4 separate regions of the Homo sapiens genome follow, and regions 2, 3 and 4 are each linked to region 1. The links are contacts of gene promoters, found by promoter capture Hi-C in blood cells and fetal thymus (Javierre and others, 2016). All regions are on one chromosome and are shown on one strand. The core of a region is centred on a gene start or on the middle of the fragment in contact, and the rest is flanking DNA. Distances in the headings are between cores, read along the strand shown.

Region 1 (2,700 bases), core at 1-2,500:
GGCCTCATCGAGGATCTCCTCCAGCTTCTCTGGACTGAGGGGGCCTAGGCTGAGCCTCACACCCTGGGGGGCAGGTGCCACTGCATTTGGGTCACTTCGGTGGGAGAGGCCCCGTCGAAGTGGTTTCTCTGGAGTCACCAACACTGTTATGTCTTCCTCCTCACGGCTGAGACAGGAAACAAACCAGGCATCATGCCCATGCAAAAGGGAACAGGAGATTATGCAAGGGAGACTGCATAAAAGCCCCACAACAGAGCCAGGGACATGACCCTAGGCCCCGATGCCCATGCTGGCTGTGAGATGTGGCCTCTGGGCGATGAGATACCTGGTTCTATGGGGCCTAATAGGCCTTTAGCATTTACGGACATCAGAAATGATGCCAGGATGGAGATGCAGCAAATCCACTTATCCTTCTTCTTAACACCCTGAAATCTAACTCCAGCTTCTCCCTTCTCTCCCCGCTACCAATAGTGTCATAGAGGCCCGAGTCAGCCAGCCGCCCAGCAGCCCCAAGTGCGCCAAACCTTGCTAAGTTACCAACCCAAGCCAATAATTCAGCAGTAAGGGATTCGAGACAAAGAGGTACTGTTAGAGGAAAATAAGTGGGATAAAGAGGCTGGTACCTGTCAGATGGTGACAGCCCCCCAAAGTCCAAGGTCTCATCCACAATAAACCTTACATCTGAAGGGGAAAGAAGAATGAAAGCCAGTCATGGGTCCCTGATGCAGCTCTCCATCGCTGGGTCTCACTCCTCCCTTTCATTCTTCCCTCCCTCCTTTCCTTACCTTCCTCCAAATCCTCCATGTCCAGCCAGCAGGAGCGAGAGTCCAGTTAGATCTGAGCTGGAGAGAAACCATACCTTTCCTCAGGTATCCATTCTGCCCAAGGCTCGCAGCTAGATTCAGGGTGCAAGCCAGGGTCGGGGGTCATGCTGGAGGCAAAGCAAGCGCCCAGGAGTGGCACCTCCCGCACAGCTACTCCTGCTACCTCCGGGAACGATACGGAGGGCTCCCCCAACTGCCCAGATTGCCCTGGAGCCGCCCTGCATCCTGGCCTCTCCTCACTGGGGGCGGCCTGCACGCCCCATCTTCCTCCCCGCCACTATCCTCAGGGTTCTGCACTCCCCAAGCCACCTTTCCACTCCCCTGGCATCACACGCGAAGCACACCTCCAGCCCACCCTGTGTCCACTTCCCGCGCCGCCTTATCTTCCACGCAACAGGCTTTCTCCCGCAACCTAGTCCCGGGAATCAGCTCCGAGGGGGCGGGGCTCCTTTCGAATCTCTCAGGCCCCACCTACTCAAGCCACACGCGCACCGTGATTGGTGAATCCTCAGGGGGAGGGGCTGAGGAGCTGCCGGCCGGAAGTCAGCCGGTGGGGGCTGGGGGAGAACCGTTCCCAGAAGACTGCATCCCGGTGGCGGAGCCGAGGGTTGAGGCTGCGAGTGCGCGTGCTCGCGTGCGCGGAGACTCTCTTTCCCGTAGGCAGATGGGAGCAGAGCGCGGCTGGCCAGGAGGGAAGAAACGGACCCACGAGTATGGAACTCGCGCCCCGCCCCGCTCCCTCTGCTGGGCCGCCGAGCACCCAGTCTCCAGAACGGTTGTGCTGCCTAACGTGGCCGCTAACCGACGCTCTACGGGAGGAAATTCGTTTTCTTGGGCGCACTCAATATGCAGGCGCCGCATTGGCCGAGGTTCCTCAGTTGTGGGTTTTTTCCAAGTTAAGGGAGCACCTAAACACTTATATTGTAGGTATATTGAGGTTCTCTTAGAAGTACATCCTCCATCGCCTCTTCAAGAACCTGAGGCAGCTGAGGTGCAAAGAAAGCAACGGGCTTTTCACGCAGGCAGGCTTAGGTTCAAATGCAACCCAAGTTTAACTGACCTCAGAACCCAAGTTTCGGTTTAGAGGCGGCTGCCTTGAGTATATTTGCCCTCTTTTCACCTCTCTTCGCTTATCTGTGAAAGGAGGATGTTGGTCCTCGCAGTTACGGTGTTACGAGGATAATTATGAAGGCGTTTTCTACCGTGTGCCCTTAGGGGATTTAGAGGGGGTGTTTGTAAGTAGCCCCCTCTGAACTAAAAGCAGTATTTGTAAAATGCTTAAACCAACTTGTTAGGAGTGTTGTCTCTGTTGTTTCTAAATGTTGCCCGGGCCACCAGTGAACTTGTCAGAGGCTTCAAACCAGAACGACTCCATCTGGAATAGAGGCTGGGTAAAATAAGGTTGAGACCTGGGCTGTATTCCTAGGAGGTTAGGCATTCTAAGTCACAGGATGAGATAGGAGGTTGGCACAAGATACAGGTCACAAAGACCCTGGTGGTAAAACAGCATGCGGTAAAGAAGCCAGCCAAAACCTACCGAAACCAAGATGGCGATGAAACTGACCTCTGGAGGTCCTCAGTCCTCATTATACGCTAATTATAATGTATTAGCATGCTAAAAGACACTCCAGACAGCATCACCACGGTTTACAAATACCATGGCAACATCAGGAAATTACCCTACATGGTCTAAAAAGGGGAGGAATTCTTAGTTCCAGGGAGTTGCCTACCCCTTTCCCGGAAAACTCATGAATAATTCATCCCTTGTTTAGCATATAATCAAGAAATAACCATAAAAATGGCCAACCAGCAGCCCTCCGGGCTGCTCTGCCTCTGGAGTAGGCATTCTTTATCCCTTTTCTTTCTTAATAAACTT
Region 2 (2,941 bases), core at 436-2,935, 220 kb after region 1:
CTTGGAAAAACTCAAAAGGCATGTTAAAATATGAAATTCAAATTTCAATGTCCATAAGTCAAATCTTTTTTGGACCACAGCCACAGTCATTCATTTTTGTCCTGTCTGTGGCTACACTCAAGCTATAGCAGCACAGCTGAGTTGTAACAGAGACTGTGTGGTCTGCAGAGCCTAAAATATTTACTATCTGGCTCGTTAGGGAAAATGTTTGCTGACCCCGGTCCATCTTAATGCCTAGATGTGTATTTCACCCATGTCCGTACAATAGCACTTAAAGATTTTCTTCCTAGATAGGACACACCCTTCTGAGGTACAGTGAACCCCACCCACAGGCTGAAAAAATAAACCAGTCAGATTGTGCCAGAACAGAGACTCAAGCCAGGTTTAATGATCATTGTCTAGTTTTCAGAGCCCAGAGGCTCCAAGATTTGCCAGCCTAGGTGTACACAAGTGGGAGGAATGGGGTCTTGGACACGGGAGGCCTGCTTGCTTTGTCAGCAGAGCTACGAGGAAGTACAGAGGTAAGAACACACAGAAAACTGGATCCATCTGCTTTGCTCTCCCCAGCTGGGGTGTACCCTCTCCTGGCCCCTTTCTTGGGCCCCATAAATACAAAATAATAATAATAATAATAATTACACAGATTGTAGAGCCCTGTCATCCTCTGTCTCCAGGGACACCTGCTTCCTGGGAGACATGTCTGGTTTATGGGTGTGGGGTAGGGTAAGAGGAGGTGGTGATCTCTCGGCCTTTTCTTATACCCACACCTGGCAGTTTTCAACACAGGGTTCTAGTGCGCTTACATATGCTGATTATTCAATTCTCCAATTAAAAAGCTACCTTTGGGTTCTATCACCTGAAACCACGGGAAGAAACAAATCAAATCTCTTGGTAGGGCAGCCAGGTACATCTACCAGGTGTCTCAAACTCAAGGCCAAACTAGTGGATATAGTCAGGAGACTTAAGAGCCACAGGGCCTTTTCTCATTCCCTAAACTGGGTAGGAATTATGAAGAAAACGGCCCTCCCAGTCCTCAGGAGCTCCATCACGATGCCCCAGAAGGCCTGCTTCATTTAACGCTCACTTTAAAGATCTTCAGAGCCCTAGATGGTGCCAAGCGGGGAGACTGCAGCATGGAGATGAGATTTTCCCAGATTTCCTGATGAGTCTGAGGAGGGAGTCCTAGTTCCTATAGCTCCAGTAACAAAATTCTCAGGAGTCTCTGGAATAAATCAAGACAACTTTTCTCTCCTGAGGACAGTTAACAGGAAGAGCAGCTCACAGCTACTTAGCCCCTTGCCAGTTTCCTTCTGAGTCCTTCAATGACCTAGTTCTATCTTAATTGCTCATATATTGCTCATATATATAGTCTTCACGGGAGGTTTCTGAGGAGTCCAAAGAACCAGGTAGCTCCTTACCACCTCTTCTCCCAAGGCCTTCAACCCATGGTTCTTCTAACTCCAGCCTGGGCAGAAAAGTGATTCAGTGCCATGGAGATGTGGGTGAAGCTTCAGGGAGTTCAGAAATGAAAATACAGGAGTGTGTATTTGAAGAGCCTGGCATGGTCACTGTCTCTCCTAAAGAGGAATACAATTGTGTGCATGAAGTTGTGCACATTGGTGGAGACCATTCTGAGAGTATCATTAATGGGGACTACAGATTCACTGTCCTGGTGGAAGTCAAGGTGCTGGTGTGCATGCATACCTATAAGCATGCATACCTATGAGCATGCAGGTACTTGAGGGAAATGCTGCACCTCTCTCTCAACAAAACTAGGTTACTAATAAAGGATGGACAGCAGTCTTGAGTTCCCAGGACCAGACAAGGGGAAGATGTTGAGTCCCCTTCCCCAATCATAATAGGAAGCTTAATAGTCAGGCCCTCCAAGCCCCTCACCCACAGGTAAATGACACCTCTTAGAATGTAAAAAGAGGTCAGAAATCTAGAGGATCTGGAGAACTTCCAATGGACTAGAAACGTGGGAGAGAAGAGACCCTAAGAAAAACCAACATCAGAGAACATTTTCACCTTCACCCTGCTCATCCCCCGCCAAAGCTCAGAGCAGCCACTCACAGGGCATGCAGTGTAGTCAAAGGGAAAGGTTAAAGGGATCGGTCATCTCCATACTCAAAGTATTCTGCAACCTTGGATGGAATGGAATGTTGAGCTCATTCTTCTTAAGTTCCTCTGGCCTCACAACCACAACTGCAAAGACCTCTCGATGGAGGAATGGGGTGGCAGAACTCCCCTTCTGAAAGTTTAGTACTACTGATTATCTCTGCTTCAGGATTGCCTGGAATCTGTGGAGAGGGCAGAACTTGAAGCTGCACTCCAAATTGCCATTCTGGGGTAGAGACCACCCAATTCCAACCCTTCTGATGTCAAAACCCCATGCTTTGACTTTGCAGCAGAGGTGGTATCTCTGAGAGGAGCAAGGCAACCTTGTCCACACAGAGGAGATATATACTGGATTTTCACTATCGCCAAGCCTACTCTAAGCCAGCTGGGGCCAGGCTTTCTTGGACTCCTCCCTTTACAGAGCAGCATATTAGGGAAAATTCAGAATCCCACCTGAGCTTGATAAGGAGACTGGATGAAGAGATGGCATACATTGAGAATCAGCTAGGTCCAGCTGGATGCTACATAATAGAGGCTGATTTACCTTCATCCTTCTATCGTGAAGTGGGCCCATGTACCACGTCTGTGGCAGGCATCCATAAAAGCTCTGCCTTCAGCAGCCCCCACTCTGGCCTGACACACAGATGCTGGGAATCAAATACTAACCAAGGGTTTCACCAACCAGGGAATTAGCCTATCTGGAATTCACCCCCCATCTACAAGTTTCGTGCTGGCACCTATGCTGTGACATGGACCCTTCAGTTCATGCTATAACCCTCTGTGCCATTGGTCCCAGGACAAGGCACAGATACCACATCCCACA
Region 3 (2,884 bases), core at 189-2,688, 190 kb after region 1:
GAAACCGTCCTGCCCCCAAACCCACCAGGGCCTGGATGATCCTGCAAGTACTGGGCTCAGGGGACAGGCTCTCGGCTCGCCGTTCCCTTTTGAGGTCACTGGAGTAATCCGAGTTCCTGTAAATGAGTGAGGGAGTGGATGAATGAATGAACGGAGCTTGTGGTTCTATGATTAAATAAAAGAAAAAAATAAGAATAAAAATCACGGCATGGCTAAAATGTGGCATGTAGAATAAAATGGAACACTGATCTGAGAAGCTGGGGCCCTGGGATCCAGACCTAGACTGGCCTTTTCCAGCTATGTCACCTTGGGCAATTCATTTCTCTGGACTTCAATTTCCAACACTAGTTAGATGTTGATCAGAACCTTCCTAGGGTCTCCTTATGCTCTAAATAGTTTGGTGTGCCAGAATATGGCCCTAGGTTAGACTTACTTTGTGACCTTGAAAAAGTCACTTGCTCAGGTCCTCAGTTTCCCCTGTTACAGTCTAGTGGAAATACTATCTTGCTTCACTAGGCCAGTGCCTAAGGCCTCCTGGGTATAAATTAGGAATGTGGACAGGTGCAGTCAATTTCTCAAATCATAAAGACTTGTAGGGGGCATTTAGTGCACTATTGCAGAAGAGATTTTAAATTAGACAATCCACATACCAAATGGTGTGTGAATAACTTAATTAATGTGCTCTCAGTACAGAATTCAGCTAGGGAATAAGTTACCATTAATACTGAGGAGGATTGAGTTCTACAGGGCTTTGGAGACAAGAATTAGCACTGTGACACCAGTTCTTAAATCATGGTTTGGATGAGAATAATCAAATCTGGAACCCAGGGGCAAAAGTGCATTTGGGATTATCGGGCCAGCCTGGGAGCTCCCAAGTGCAAACTCTGGGACCTGGTGGGGACTCTCCACCTTTCTTACTGCCTCAAGAGTGGTTAGACCAATTGCTGATTGAGCTCTTTTGCCTTTGGCCCCTTCCCTGTTCTGATCCACCACTCAAGTGCCAGAGGGAGCCATATAAAAATGATATTAAGGCTCTGAGTGACTGGCATCCAGAACTGGAAGAGCCATTATAAGCAATTTTACCATTAAATTAGACAAATGGATCCAACAGAATTTGAGACAGACTGTCAAAGGATAAGGGAAACAATGAGGTTATTAGACCATGGACTCCTCTCCCTTGGAGGGATTCTGAAAAGCTTCCTTCTTCAATCCTGCCATCCTTCCCTCCACGCAGCACTCCAAATACCCACAACATTTCTGTAAAGGCTGTACAAAGCAATGCCCAGGGAAATGATGCAGTCTTGGGGTCAGCACTAATGACCTAGGAATTAAGATCTGATAGACTTTTATGATCTTCAAGTACTTAGAAAGGGGGTTGTGCAAAACAGAGACCCTTTTCTCTCAGAATGCTAAAACCTGGGCCCTGGGCTAGACTCTGAATTCAGATTTCATTCACAGGGTAGCATCACAAAGAAACGTGCTTTGCTTTTATTGCCATCCCAGGTAGCCTGAATTCAGGGCGCCAGTTTCACTTGCTTTGAAGCTCTGCAGATGAGGTAACATAAAAAGTAAACAGGCATTAGCACCAGAAATGACAGTGGAAATGTCATTTGAGTTTTTCACTCATTTCCTGTTTGGAGGGATCAAATGCTCCTGATTGGAGAAGGAAAAAAGAAAACACAAAGCTTGCAGTTATTGTAATGGTAATTGAGAACTTTTGTTGTCATTATTACCAAAAAGCAAAGATTTTACTGGAATCTTTGTGAAAAGAAAGTAATGTTATTCTTTTATTTGTCAGGAGCTTATCTTAGAGTTTTTTTTTTTTTAATTGAGAAATCAACTAATCTCACCTCAATTCCAATTCTGGAGTCTCACTAAGTCTATACTAAGCTAGCAAAAATAACCTGGACATAGACCAATTATTGGAGAACTAGTTTTTTTTTAAAAAAGAAAAGGACATCAAATCATAGGAGTTCAAGATAAAAAAGAAAAGAAAAGAAGTATCTTAAAAAAAATTTTCTTTTTAAGAAAAAGACACACTTTGGGAGGCTGAGGTGGGAGGATTGCTTGAGCCCAGGAGTTTGACACAAGCCTGGGCAATAAGGGGAGGTCGCGTCTCTATTAAAAAATAAAATTAGTTGGGTGTGATGACACATGCTTGTGGTCCCAGCTCCTTGGGAGGCTGAGGCTGGAGGATCATTGAGCCCAGGAGGTCGAGGCTGCAATGAGCTGCGCACTCCAGCCTGAGTGACAGAACTAGACCTTGTCTCAAAAAAAAAAAAAAAAAAAAAAAAAGGAAAATAAAACAAAAGAAAAAGGAAGATAGAGACAGATTTTTGAGGTCAGATAGGCTTCGGTTTAAATTGAGTCCCCTCTGCTTTCTTGCTTTCTAGCTCTGGAACCTTGAGTGAGTAAATATCAAATCTTTTTTTTTTTTCAGACAGGCTCTAAGATAGAGACTGGCTCTATCGCTGAGGCTGGAGTGCAGTGGTACGAACACATCTCACTGCAGCCTAAATTTCCAAGCTCAGGCAATCCTCCCACCTCAGCCTTTCAAGTATCTGGGACCAAAGGCACATGCCACCATGCCTAGCTAAGTTGTAAAAAATTTTTGTAAAAATCGGGTCTTGCTATGCTGCCCCAGCTGGCTTTGAGTTCCTGGGCTCAGGTGATATTCCCACCTCAGCCTCCAAAAGTGCTGAGATTACAGGCATGAGCCTGTTACCTCGCCTAAACAAAACAAAAAACAATGAGATAAGCGTGGGAGTAGGACCTGGGGAGAGAATTTGTCTTCCTTGTGCTCTGAGCTAACTGGTGATGTTAGTGTCCTCAGGACTGTCACAGGATTATCACCAGCGAGCATGTCAGTGCCAAAGGGGAGCCT
Region 4 (2,722 bases), core at 53-2,552, 200 kb after region 1:
GGTAACCCAGGTGGAGCAAAATTGAGTTCATGGGGGTGGGGACCTGGGAGAGTATCTATTTGGGATGCCACATAGTAGCAGAAAGGACCCATCGAGAAATCTCAAGAAGAGACTCAGGGACTTATAGAAACATTGGTTAAGGACGGTTTCCCCTTTAAATGGGGAAGCAGGCCCAGAAAAGAGATGATACTTACCCACAATCACCCAACTAGTTAGCAGTGGAACCCTAAACTGCACCTTGAAGTGAAGGGTCCCATAAGAAAGGTGGATGGATTCTTCTTAGTGGGGCCATCTTAGTCCAGATGCAGCAGGTGAAGGAAGATGGGCATTTGAGAATGGACCCACTGAAAGGTTCCCCAAGTGGTCCTAGCACCAGGAGCTTGTCACGGAGTGTGGGCTTCATACTGTTGAGCTGCAGGCCCTGCTTGGGGCTTCTGGAAAGGGGACAACCTCTGGGTTGTCTTCTGGGAAGAACAGTCTCTGGTAAGGAGAGGCTGGAGACTCTCTAAAACTGGCCCTGACCCTTCTGAGCTGTGTTTCTCCTCTAGGGGCTGAGCTGGAGGAGAGTAGCAAAAACACGAAGAAGTTGGATGCCATGACCCTCATTAAAGAAGGTGGGAGTCGACACACATTAGGGCTGGGACCCAGGGCAGACAGGACCACGCTCCACTTTTCCACCACACTACAGAAGGAGGTGGCTGCTTGAAGCAGCTGTCTGGGGACCCTCATTTTGATAGGTCCGAGTCGGCCGGTTGTTCTGGCTCCTGTGACCTGTCGTTGGAGATCATAATCATAGGTGATTGCCCACTCACCTGAAAGCGTATACCCTTTGGGACTGCTTAGATCGAACTCTGGAAGCTGGAAGCATTCAGCATGGAGCTTGTTATATCAGCGGGGAGGTGAAGTGCCTTCTGAGTGTGGGGTGGGAGTGCTCTCCGATCTTCCAGAGAAACCCTGGGATCTTCAGCCCCAGTGACATGGGCTTCTGTCATTGCAGACATGTCCATCTTCGGGCACTGCCCTGCCCATGATGACTTCTACTTGGTTGTGTGTAACCACTGCAGCCAAGTGGTGAAGCCTCAAGCTTTCCAGAAGCACTGCGGTGAGGGGAGCCCTAGGGAGGAGATAAAGGGACAGGGGAAGGTGGAGCATGGAACTCTGAGGACAGGGTCAGTTGGGAGGTCTCGTAGGGTAATGGAGGGTGGTGTTGAGGATAGGAAGGTTGTGGGGGTGGCTTCAGAGCATTGTGGGGAGTCGGGTTATTGTTTGAACAAAATTCTAGCATCCAGTGGAATTACGGGAGGAGTTAAGACATTCAGGAAGCTGGGTCTTGAATTTTGAGTCCTAAAGGCTCAGATTCAAATGGGAAGGAGGCATGTTTACAATCTAATTTATGGAAACTCAGATTCTCTCATGTGAGTCTATGGACATGGTTAGGTTGGGGAAGGAAGTGGTGATACCACTCACCTTGATTATTCTTTCCACCTCCTGGTGACAGAAAGAAGACATGGGCCCCTCAGCAAGCTTTATGGCCGGGCCCCACCCCCACCTCCAGCCCCTGCCAGCTCTCAGAAATGCCATGTAGTGAATGGGCAGGGCCCAGCTTGTAGGGCCCCAGGTTCCACGAAAACCTCCTCCAGGGAGAAGGGCCAGGGGTCCCGGAGCCGTGGCCACCAGCCTCCTGAGAAGACCCAGAAGGACAACCTCTGGTAAGGAGAGGCTGGAAACTTTCTAAGACTGGCCCTGACCCTGACCCATGGATGGGCTGACATCAATACAGACAGCCCTGGGTCAAGGCATACTCCTCACAGCAGGAGGCAGCCGTCCTGTCTGCAGCTTCCTTCCATATATTCCAGGGAAGATGGGGTCTCCTCTTCCCGTGTTTCACACCCCTGCTGGAGCCCACCCAAATTCCAGGGCTGGGAAAGAGATGGCTCTGGGCTAGAGTCCAGGCCCCAGGCCTCGCCTCCCCTCCCCTCCCTCAGCCAACCCCCTCTCTCTGTGTGTAGCCTTTTCGTGCCTGTGGTGAATCTGGAGAAGATGTCCAGTCTCCCGAAGCCTGATGGACATGGAATCAGGGTGGCCCCACCCTCTGCTTTTCTCAGCCAGCCAGGGGGCCTCACCAAGGACTCCCCTGGAAAACCTCCCATGGCTCCCCCTTCTAAAGAACCTCCTGGCAGAGAGAACATCGAGATCATCCCCAGTGAGGGGTCCAGTCACTGGGCTGAAGGCAGCCCTCCTGAAAAGGAGCCCAGTGGGACCAGGCTGCCCCCTAAAACCCACCGGAAGATGGCTCGTGAGTAGTTGTGGTCTTGGGGGTCCAGAATGTAGAGTGGGGACTCCTTTGGGCTGCTTTGTCCTTGGGCTGGATGAGGAGGAGGTCAGGTTTATGGGCCTGGCCATCACAGGTTGTAGGGTATAGGAGCCCCGTCACCTCTTGACCTGCTTGCTTCCTGGGAAGCTTCTCTCCATCCTGTGTCTCCTGATCAAGGCTGAGGGAGCCCATGCCCAGGAGGTGAAGTTCTTTCTCACTCTTTTCTCACCTAGATCCAGGGCGCCAGCCAGACACATCTCACAGCTGGCTTCTCTGGCCTCCCAGATGCCCATGGCTGCTTTTGTTTCTTGATGTGTGTTGCCCTGCTTTGGGCTTGAAGTCCCAAAAGGCGCACCTGAAATTGGGATAGGGATGGTTCTCACACCCAGCAAGGAGATGTTGATGCCC

What was found. The method cuts DNA at HindIII sites, captures the fragments that hold promoters and counts their contacts. A CHiCAGO score of 5 or more calls a contact.
Region 2: a contact is called between a fragment that was not itself captured here and the fragment with the promoter of PSRC1 in region 1, in 1 of 17 cell types (fetal thymus). The highest score is 5.5, in fetal thymus.
Region 3: a contact is called between a fragment that was not itself captured here and the fragment with the promoter of PSRC1 in region 1, in 2 of 17 cell types (total B cells and erythroblasts). The highest score is 5.5, in total B cells.
Region 4: a fragment that was not itself captured here is called in contact with the fragment with the promoter of PSRC1 in region 1 in 1 of 17 cell types (total CD4 T cells); the score reaches 5.2 in total CD4 T cells.

What each region holds. Positions count from the first base shown.
Region 1 is chr1:109,281,895-109,284,594 of GRCh38, forward strand. PSRC1 (proline and serine rich coiled-coil 1) reads right to left here and starts at 1,251. Exons shown (of 8, transcript NM_001032291.3): 1 at 1,169-1,251; 2 at 786-842; 3 at 624-681; 4 at 1-166. The coding sequence starts at 804. RefSeq lists enhancers at 1,620-2,345, 1,713-1,762. The HindIII fragment of the contact is 13,254 bases long and covers 1-2,700 here.
Region 2 is chr1:109,503,820-109,506,760 of GRCh38, forward strand. AMIGO1 (adhesion molecule with Ig like domain 1) reads right to left here. Exons shown (of 2, transcript NM_020703.4): 2 at 359-2,941. Among named protein-coding and RNA genes, the nearest start is that of AMIGO1, 4.4 kb to the right of the region's middle. The HindIII fragment of the contact is 358 bases long and covers 1,507-1,864 here.
Region 3 is chr1:109,467,558-109,470,441 of GRCh38, forward strand. The region is part of intron 2 of SYPL2 (synaptophysin like 2); the gene reads left to right. Among named protein-coding and RNA genes, the nearest start is that of SYPL2, 2.5 kb to the left of the region's middle. The HindIII fragment of the contact is 489 bases long and covers 1,195-1,683 here.
Region 4 is chr1:109,485,509-109,488,230 of GRCh38, forward strand. ATXN7L2 (ataxin 7 like 2) reads left to right here. Exons shown (of 11, transcript NM_001350175.2): 2 at 549-614; 3 at 998-1,102; 4 at 1,499-1,709; 5 at 2,010-2,296. Among named protein-coding and RNA genes, the nearest start is that of ATXN7L2, 3.0 kb to the left of the region's middle. The HindIII fragment of the contact is 440 bases long and covers 1,083-1,522 here.